Regions from separate parts of the Homo sapiens genome. Here all the other regions are linked to region 3. The links are contacts of gene promoters, found by promoter capture Hi-C in human tissues and cell types (Jung and others, 2019). All regions are on one chromosome and are shown on one strand. Each heading gives the region's core, a stretch centred on a gene start or on the middle of the fragment in contact. The rest is flanking DNA. Distances are from core to core; before and after follow the strand shown. Region 1 overlaps CDK5RAP1 (CDK5RAP1 mitochondrial tRNA methylthiotransferase). Region 2 holds the start of KIF3B (kinesin family member 3B). Region 3 holds the start of MAPRE1 (microtubule associated protein RP/EB family member 1).

Region 1 (3,280 bases), core at 169-2,668, 560 kb before region 3:
TTCTTAAAATTGTTTCGGAACACCATGAGCCACACCCACATAAGAAAGTGACCTAAATTGGTAAATGATGTGTGTGTTCTGACTGTTCCACAGACGGCCATTCCCCCATCTCTCTCCCTTTCCTCAGGCCTCCCTATTCTCTGAGACACAACAATATTGAAATTGGGCCATTTAATCACCCTACAATGGCCTCTAAAGTGCTCAAGTGAAGGGAAGGGTCGCAGGGCTCTCACTTGAAATCAAAAGCCAGAAATGTTTAAGCTTACTGAGGAAATCATGTTGAAAGCCGAGCTAGGCTGAAAGCTAGGCCTCTTATGTCAACCAGCCAAGTTGTAAATGCAAAGGAAAAGTTCATGAAGGAAATTAAAAGTACTACTCCACTGAACACATGAATGATAAGAAAACAACACAACCTCTTTGGCCGGGTGTGATGGCTCACAGGCTGGGCGCAGTGACTCACACCTTTAATCCCAGCATTTTGGGAGGCCAAGGTGGGTGGATCACCTGAGGTCAGGAGTTCTAGATCAGCCTGGCCAACATGGCAAAACTCTGTCTCTACTAAAAATAGAAAAATTAGCTGGGTTTGGTTGTGCAGACCTGTAATCCTAGCTGCTTGGGAGGCTGAGGCAGGAGAATTGCTTGAACCCGGGAGGCAGAGGTTGCAGTGAGCTGAGATTGTGCCACTGCATTCCAGCCTGGGCAATAGAGTGAGACTCCATCTCAAAAAGAAAAACAAGAAAACCCAAAAAAACCACTAACAACAAAACCCAGCCTTTTTGCTGATATGGAGAAAGCTTTAGTGATCTGGAGAGAAGATCAAAGAAGCCGCAGCACTTCCTTAAGCCAAAGCCTAATCCAGAGCAAGGCCCCTCTTCAGTTCTCTGAAGCCCAAGAGAGGTGAGGAAGCTGAAGAAGAAAAGTTTGAAGCTAGCAGAGGTTGACTTACAAGGTTTGAGGAAAGAAGCCATCTCTCTAACATCAAAGTGCAAGGGGAAGCCATAGTGCTGATGTAGAAGCTGTGCAAGTTATCCAGAAGATCTAGCTAAGATCAATGCTGAAGGTGGTTCTACTAAACAACAGATTTGCAGTGTAAATGAACAGTCTTCTGTTGGAAGAAGATGTCATCTGGGACTTTCATAGCTAGAGAAGAGAAATCAGTGCCATTCTTCAAAGCTTCAAAGGACAGGCTGACTCTGTCTCTTGTTTCCTTTTAAAAAAATTAGAGGTGGGGTCTTGCCGTATTGCCCAGGCTGGTCTTGAACACCTGACCTCAAGCAGTTCTCCCACCTAGGCCTCTCAAAGTGCTGGGATCACAGGCGGGAGCTACTGTGCCCAGCCAGACTCTCTTGTTAGGGGCCAAGGCAGCTGGTGACTTTAAGTTGAAGCCAGTGTTGATTTGCCATTCTGAAAATCCTAGGGCCCTTAAGAATGATGCTAAAGAGGATGTTACTTCCTCCACTGAAGTCGTGAGCCCCTCAAAATCATCCATGAATGTTGAAATCAGTATCTTCCAAACTCCTATTAATGTTGACATTTCGACCTCTTCCCATGAATCATTAATGTTCTTAATGGTATCTAGAATGATGAATTCTTTCCGGAATGTTTTCAGTTTACTCTGCCCAGATCCATCACAAAAGTCACTATCTACGACAGCTATAGCTTTATGAAATATATTTCTTAAATAATAAGAATTGATCTTATATAAACTAAAAATTAAAATAATAGGGCTTGAAAGTTGAAATTACTCCTTGATCCATGGGCTGCAAAATGGATATTGTGTTAGCAGGCATAAAAACGACACTAATAATCTCCTTGTACATCTCTTTCAGAGCTCTGGGATGACCAGGTGCGTTGTCAATGAGCAGTCATATTTAGAAAGGAATCTTTTTTCCTAAGCAGTAGGTCTCAACAGTGAGCTTAAAATATTCAGTGGTGGCTCATCCCTGTAATCCCAACACTTTGGGAGGTTGAGGCAGGAGAATCACTTGAGCCTACAAGTTGGACACCAGCCCAGGCAGCATAACAACTTTATAGTTTTTATTTTTTATTTTTATTTTTATTTTTTTTCGAGACTGAGTCTTGCTCTGTCACCCAGGCTGGAGTGCGGTGGTGCGATCTCAGCTCACTGCAACCTCTGCCTCCCAGGTTCAAGCAGTTCTCCTGCCTTGCCTCCCAAGTAGCTGGGACTACAGGCATGCACCACCATGCCTGGCTAATTTTTGTATTCTTAGCAGAGACTTAGTAGAGATGTTGGCCAGGCTGGTCTCGAACTCTTGACTTCATGATCCACCCATCTTGGCCTCCTAAAGTGCTGGGATTACAGGCGTGAGCCACTGTGCCCGGCCCTATAATTTTTAAATAAAAAAATTAGCTGGGCATGGTGGCACATGCCTGTAGTCGTAGTTACTTGGGACGCTGGAACAGGAGGATCGCTTGGCCTAGCAGTTCAAGGTTGGGGTGAGCTACAGTTTCATTGCACTCTAGCGAGGGTGATAGAGTGAAACCCTATCTCGATATATTTAAAAAATATAAATATAATGAAATTAAGGTATGTACATTGCTTTCACTTAATAGACTGCAGTATAGAGTAAATATAACTTTTATTTGCACTGGGAAACCAAAAAATTTGTGTCACTCACTTTATTGCAATATTCTCTTCATTGTGGTGATCTGGAACCAAACCTGTGATATCTCTGAGGTATGCCTATATTGTGTCAAAGGTACTTAGCACAGTGCCTGGCATGGAGTAGGTAGCCCACATCTGAAACCTTTTTTTGGAGGTTTTTTGTTTCAGTGAAAAGTCTTTCTTTTGGCCCCGACTTTCATCTTTTTTCCTCTGGATTGTCTTCTTATTGAGTTGTAAAAGTTCTTTACATATCCTTTATTTTTTTGACCACTGCAAAGGAGCCTTTCTTGCAATGGAGGAGAGAGACTGGAATGTGTTCTCTTTATGTTTTCTTTTCTTTTCTTTTTCTTTTTTTTTTTTTTTTGAGATGGAGTCTCGCTCTGTCACCCAGGCTAGAGCGCAGTGGTGTGATCTGGCCTCACTGCAACCTCTGCCTCCCGGGTTCAAGTGATTCTCCTGCCTCAACCTCCTGAGTAGCTGGGATTACAGGTGCACACCACCATGTCCAGCTAATTTTTGTATTTTTAGTAGAGACGGGGTTTTACCATGTTGGCCAAGCTGGTCTCGAACTGCTGACCTCAAATGATTTGCCCACCTCAGCCTCCCAAAGTGCTGGGATTACAAGCATGAGCCACTGCGCCCAGCCTCTTTATG
Region 2 (3,469 bases), core at 881-3,380, 540 kb after region 3:
AAAGATTCCAGCTCTCAGGCTGGGCACAGTGGCTCATGCCTGTAATCCCAGTCCTTTGGGAGGCCAAGGCAGGCGATCACCTGAGGTCGGGAGTTTGAGACCAGCCTGACCAACATGGAGAAACCCCATCTCTACTAAAAATACAAAATTAGCCGGGCATGGTGGCACATGCCTGTAATCCCAGCTACTTGGGAGGCTGAGGCAGGAGAACTGCTTGAACCAGGGAGGCGGAGGTTGCAGTGAGCTGAGATGGCACCATTGCACTCCAGCCTGGGCAACAACAGCAAAACTCCGTCTCAAAAAAAAAAAAAAAGATTCCAACTATTTTCTGAGATCCTCACTTTGGGTGGTATCTATTTAAATAAAGCTTTACCTGAGATCTTGTTTCCTTGCCTTTTAACTTCTAGCCAGTTAAAAGTAACAAAAGAATACCCCTGTGGCCTTATAATAGCAACTGTTGCAAAATCAGAGGCAACAGTGAATGGGGGATAAAATACAGGATTTACCTAGAAACACGTCCACTTCCATCACTTAATAGATACAAGATTCTTAGGCAATGACTGGGTGTGGTGGCTCACGCATGTAATCCTAGCACTTTGGGAGGCCGAGGCAGGTATATCACTTGAGGCCAGGAGTTCGAGACCAGCCAGGCCAACATGGTGAAACCTTGTCTCTACTAAAACTACAAAAATTAGTGGACGAGGTGGTGAACATCTGTAGTCCCAGCTACTCGGGAGGCTGAGGCAGGAGAATCGCTTGAACACACGAGGCGGAGGTTGCAGTGAGCTGAGATCGCGCCACTGCACTCCAGCCTGGGCAACAGACTAAGACTCTGTCTCAAAAAAAAAAAAAAAAAAAAGGATTCTTAAGCAGGTCCTTCCCTTTACTTTTCTGAACCTCAGTTTCCTCATCGGCAAAATGAGGATGACATCACCAGGCACCTGGCAAAGTCTACATAAAGATTAAATGAAATAATATGCCTGGTAAAGTGCTTCTTAATCATATGCTTGTAAATAGTTATTACTGCTTTAAGCACTTCCCAAAGGACACAAAGATGCCTTTTTTCTTCTGGAAGGGTCAACGAAGCCCAGGTAGAAAATGAGACCATGACCCCAGCTATCTACAAGGGGTTGACCTCAAAGAGTTTCCCAGGACTACTTGTAGAAGTACCTCCCTTGCTCTGAGCAGAATGGAGAAGTAAAACCGGGGTTGGGGGTTGGCATTGCAGTAGGACTACCCATATGAGCTGGCACTCTACACACCTACACCTTACCTGTCCCAAAGTCATCTCCTCCTGGAAGTCTTGCCCTCCTACCCTGGACGCCTCATAATAGCTGGTTGAGCACTTACTATGTGCCAAGCTACTTGACATACCCAGTCTCACTGATTTCCACAGTAGTCTATTACCTCATTTCACAGATAAGGAAAAGAAGACTCAGAGAAATTAACTTGCCCAGGGCCACACAGTTACTAAGTGGAAATGCCACGTCTCTAACTCGCTCAGACTTCAAACTGCCCTCTTGGTCTCCCATCTAGGGTGCCCTAAGAATTCTCCCTCTCCCCATTTAGGGCACTTTCACATACACTTCTCATTATCTTTACCACTCTGAGCAGCAATGTTAGGACCCCATTGAATAAACAGGTCAGCTAAGGCCAGGGAGGTGAAAAGACTTGCCCAAGGTCACACAGCAAGCCCAGCACAGCGCCGAGGTTCGGACCCCAGGCTCTCGCTTCCCCGCCCTCCTCCCAAACTGGGGCCCTGACCACCGCCTCAGGGCCCCCAGGTGGGCTGCGACCCAAGGTGGCCGTGTCTGGGGGTCGGGCCGCGACCCTGCCAGGGGAAGGAGGGGCAAGGCCGTCCGGACTACCAAAGGATGCCTAGGAGGCAGGGCAGAGGATGCTCCGGCTCGCGGGACAGCAAAGCCAGGCAGAGGCGCGGGCGCAGGTCGCAGGGAAAACCCCAGGCGGCCACAGGATTAGCCCTGCTCGGTGGGCGCCCGGCCCCTCCGACTCACCTGAGGCCCGAGCCGAAAGCGGGCGGCGGCGGCGGCGGCGGCGGCGGCGGCGGCGGCGGGGGCGGCGAACCCCTGGCTCAGCCATTCCCCGCTGCCCCGGATGGGGAGAGACAGTGGCCGCTCACTTCCTTAGCAACCTGGCTCGGCGACCCACTTCCTTAGCAACCGGTGTCAATTTCAATAACTTTATTGGCACACGAGCAGAGGACAGGGAAAGCCGGCTGGAGGGGTCTGGGCGGGGCTCAGGTCGGTGCTGGTGTTTAGCGGGGGCCCAACACACCTCGGTCTCCTCACCCACCTAAGCGGGGAGAGTGGCGCACAACGTGGCCTGACTCCATCCTCTGGTATCTCGTGCCTCAGTTTCCCATCTGTAAATGGAACACACGCGATTTCAGCCGCCGTTCAACCTTTCTAAAAGCTTTCACATCCATTATCTGACTGGTGTCTCAAACTGCTACTGAGGTAACTCCCATTTAGGGTGCCCCCAGTGACTCAATACGAACACCTATAGGCACCCTTGTTGTAGCTTTCCTGTCCTTCACCCAATCCAGTCAGTCACAACCGCCCCAGGCAAGGCCAGGCCACGCTCATCTCTAGCCTGCCTGAAATATCTGGTCTGTTTCCATTCTTTTGTCCAGCTCTGTCCGAACAATCCATTTTCCATAAGGTGGCCAGAGTAATTATTTAAAACAGATCATGCGGCCAGGTGCGGTGGCTCCCGCTGTAATCCCAGCACTTTGGGAGGCTGAGGCAGGTGAATCACCTGAGGTCAGGAGTTCGAGACCAGCTTGGCCAACATGGCGAAACCCCGTCTCTAATAAAAATACAAAAAATTAGCCGGGCGTGGTGGCGCATGCCTGTAGTCCCAGCTACTCGGGAGGCTGAGGCAGGAGAATCGCTTGAACCCGGGAGGCAGGGGTTGCAGTGAGAGAGATGGCACCACTGCACTCCAGCCTGGGCGACAACAGCGAAACTCCGTCTCAGATATAAAGATTAAAATAAATAAATAAATAAATAAATAAATAAAACAGATCATGCCACTTTCTGATTAATACTCGATTTAATGGAGTCTCATTGCTCTTAGAATCAAATATGAAGTCCTTATTACTTCCTGCAAAATTCGTTAAAACTCTATTCCAACCACACTGGCCTAGAAGGGCAGGTTCCAACCCCCATGGAACTTACACCTGCTGTTCCCCACTAAATAGAAACTGCATAAGAGCAGTCTTTTATTTGTTCACTCTTGTATCCACCATGCCTGGAACCAAGCTTAGTCAATAGTAGTTGCTGAACAAATATGTTTTGCTCCTTGAATAAATGAATACCTGAGATGGTCTTCTTCATCTGCCTACAACTACTTTTTGCCTGTTGTGGCAGATATTGCTACTTCCTCTCAAAAACGTTATTTCTTCCTGCTCCTGGACACACAACTAGACAGTATTTCCCAGCCTTCC
Region 3 (3,229 bases), core at 146-2,645:
ACCCCTTATTTGTAAAATGAAAGTAATCTCTCTTGCCAGGCGCGGTGGCTCACACCTGTAATCCCAACACTTTGGAGGCCGAGGCGGACAGATCACTTGAGGTCAGGAGTTCGACAACAGCCTGGCCAACATGGCGAAACCTCGTCTCTACTAAAAAATACAACAATTAGCCGGGCTTGGTGGCGCGCGCCTGTAATCCCGACTACTCGGGAGGCTGAGGCACGAGAATCGCTTGAACCCGGGAGGCGGAGGTTGCAGTGAGCGATGGTGCCACTGCACGCCTGGGCAACAGAATAAAACTCTGTCTCAAAAAAAAAAAAAAAAGGAAGAAGAGAATCTCTCTTAAAGACAGTGTTAGTATTAAAAGACACAAAGCCACATGGAGCACTTAACAGTGCTTGACACAAAACAAGTGCCCAACTAACAAAGAGCTGCTATTATCATTACTACTGTTAGAGACATGCCATCGGAGAAGCGGATGCCCGGCCTAGCATAACCTCCCTCAATGGGCCCCAGGATCCTCATCCCCAAAATGGGGCAGAGGTCAAGCTCTGCCCTGCAGCATCCGAGGGCAACTGTGAAGTAGGGACTGAACTAGCACTGTTGATACCATCCCGTTATACTGTCCTCCTGCTCATCATAATGTGGATTCCTGGAGAGCAAATCTTTGTTCCCGGGAAAACAGCCAGGGTTTAGCACGGTGCCCAACACCTAGTGGGCATTCAATAAACACACACTGAAGAAAGGAGGGAGTCCAAGAGCTGGCTTACTTTCTGCCATACATCGCGCTAAGAGTTTAATGTGGGTAGTATTACTGTCCCCGTTTTACAGATGAGGAAGCTGAGATCCACAGCGGTTAAAGCACCTGTCCAAGGTCACACCGCACGGAACCCAACCCAGGTCTGACTCCACCACCCGATCTCTCGGCCCTCAGGCAACACGGCCTCCCACAATGTGCGTCCCCAGAGCTCCCAGGACGGCCCACCTCGCCCACACCCTCCCAGGGCCCAACCACCCTGGGACCTCCAGTCGCTGCAGCGCAGGGACCACACCTCAGCGGCGGCCCAGAAACCCCCACCCCGCGTAGCAGCAGCCCACTTCCGGCCCGAGACCCCGCCCCCTGAGCAGAGCGCAGCGCGCGCCCCCAGGCCCAGCCCGCGCGCGCCGGGTGACGGCCCCGCCCTTCCCCCACCCGGCTCGAACAGCACCGCCGTGTGGAACGGCCCTGGCGCTGCCCGTAGGGCCTGCCCGCGCACGCCCGGCCTTGGCCCACGCGGCCGCCCCCCCAGCCGCACCCCCCGGGCCCGCTAGCCGGCTCACCGGCTCTCGGCAGAACCGCGTCCACTGCCCGCAACCGGCTCCGGTTCCGTCTTCGTCTCGTTCAAACCGCCAGACCCCGCCCGCCCGCCCGCGCGATGACCTCACACGCACCCCCTCGTTACGCGCCGACGTAAAGGCTCGCCATCCTCCGCCGGCTCCTTTTATAGAGAGGGTCTCAGCCGCGCGCCGGGGGCGGAGCTCGGCCCCTGATCCACAGAACGGTAGCCGAGGGGCGGGGCCCCGACCGCCGGGGCGACTGCGGCACGTGGTCGGTCGCAGCCAATGAGGTCCCGCCTCGGCCCGGTGTGACTCAGTTACAAAATCCCTATGGCAGTAACCAAAAAGAAAATTGCTTTTACAATGAATTTTTTTTTTTTTTTGCTTAGAGATGTATGGAGGTCTCGCTGTGTTGCCCAGGGTGGTCTCGAACTCTTGGCCTCAAGCGATCCTCCCGCCTTAGCCTCCCAAAGCGCTGGGATAACAGGCGTGAGCCACCGCTCCCAGGCTTACAATTAATTTCTGTAAGAATGGGTTATTGAATCATAAAGATACCTAATAGACACTTTGGGGAAACGCTTAGAAGTCAACTTTCTGGGCCGGGTGCAGTGGCTCACGCCTTTAATCCCAGCACTTTGGGAGGCCCAGGTGGGAGGATCACCTGAGGTCAGGAGTTTGAGACCAGCCTGGCCAACATAGTGAAACCCCATCTCTACTAAAAATACAAAAATTAGCCTGGCGTGGTGGTGGGCGCCTGTAATTCCAGCTACTTGGGAAGCTGAGGCAGGAGAATCACTTGAACCCAGGAGACGGAGGTGGCAGTGAGGCGAGACTGCACCACTGCACTCCAGTCTGGGCGACAGAGCAAGACTCTGTCTCAAAAAAAAAAAAAAAAAGTCACGTTCTGTGACGCCCCCGCCCCCCCATCTGCAATATCATGCGGCATATTTTCTTCTTAGTACCATAAGAAGGCATCTTGTGCCTTTACTGTCTGTCTCCTGTAAAGTCCACAGGAGCAAGGACCTCCTGAGTCCTGTTCCGGGTTGTTTCCCAATGGCTGTACATACATTCTCTCTTGCCCACTCCCTCTTTTTTTTTTTTTTTTTTTTAAGAGATGGGGTCTTGCCATGTTGCCCAGGCTGGGCTGGTCTCCTGGGCTCGAGAGATCCACCCGCATCGGCCTCCCAAAGTGCTGGGATTACAGGCGTGAGCCACCACACCTGGCCCTTACATTCTCAAGAGAGCCTTGGCTGAAGGAGGAACTGGGCTGGGCGTGGTGGCTCACACCTGTAATCCCAACACTTTGGGAGGCCAAGGCGGATGAATTACCTGAGGTCAGGAGTTGGAAACCAGCCTGTCCAACATGGCGAAACCCCATCTCTACTAAAAATGCAAAACTTAGCCGGGCATGGTGGTGGGCGCCTGTAATCCCAGCTACTTGGGAGGCTGAGGCAGGAGAATCACTTGAACCTGGGAGGCAGAGGTTGCAGTCAGACTTCGTCTAAAAAAGAAAAAAAGAGGAACTGCACCACTTTACAGCAGAAAGAAACTGAGGGACAAAGAGGCCAATTGACTCACTCAGTGTCAGAGGTAGATCCAGATTTCAAGCTGACTTTTTTTGTCTGGGTATCATTTATTCAAGTATTCAACAAATATTTTCCCTGACCAATCAGGCCCTGGTGAAAAAAAGACACAATCTGATCATGGTGGTACGTGCCTTTAGTTCCAGCTACTGGGAAGGCTGGGGCAGGAGGATCGCTTGAGCCCAGGAGTTCGAGGCTGCAGTGAGCAAAGATCACGCCACTGCACTCCAGGCCTGGGAAACAGAGTGAAACTCCATCTCTAAGAGATAAAAACGAAAACTAGACACAGCTTCTGACCTCTTAAAGTTTCCAGACTGGCAGGGGAGGCA

What was found. The method cuts DNA at HindIII sites, captures the fragments that hold promoters and counts their contacts. A contact is called where the count stands out against the background at its distance.
Region 1: a contact is called between a fragment that was not itself captured here and the fragment with the promoter of MAPRE1 in region 3, in 1 of the 25 tissues and cell types used here (dorsolateral prefrontal cortex).
Region 2: a contact is called between the fragment with the promoter of KIF3B here and the fragment with the promoter of MAPRE1 in region 3, in 1 of the 25 tissues and cell types used here (spleen).

Annotation. Positions count from the first base shown.
Region 1 is chr20:33,375,112-33,378,391 of GRCh38, reverse strand. All of the region lies in intron 8 of CDK5RAP1 (CDK5RAP1 mitochondrial tRNA methylthiotransferase), which reads left to right. Among named protein-coding and RNA genes, the nearest start is that of CDK5RAP1, 25 kb to the left of the region's middle. The HindIII fragment of the contact is 4,046 bases long and covers 1-3,280 here.
Region 2 is chr20:32,276,312-32,279,780 of GRCh38, reverse strand. It overlaps KIF3B (kinesin family member 3B), which reads right to left and starts at 2,130. Exons shown (of 9, transcript NM_004798.4): 1 at 2,016-2,130. It overlaps LOC124904885 (a long non-coding RNA gene), which reads left to right and starts at 2,238. Exons shown (of 2, transcript XR_007067561.1): 1 at 2,238-2,477. RefSeq lists silencers at 1,755-1,934, 1,955-2,114 and enhancers at 1,768-2,278, 2,325-2,374. The HindIII fragment of the contact is 2,728 bases long and covers 132-2,859 here.
Region 3 is chr20:32,818,120-32,821,348 of GRCh38, reverse strand. MAPRE1 (microtubule associated protein RP/EB family member 1) reads right to left here and starts at 1,395. Exons shown (of 7, transcript NM_012325.3): 1 at 1,321-1,395. RefSeq lists enhancers at 1-346, 347-1,016 and a silencer at 1,089-1,678. The HindIII fragment of the contact is 10,810 bases long and covers 1-3,229 here.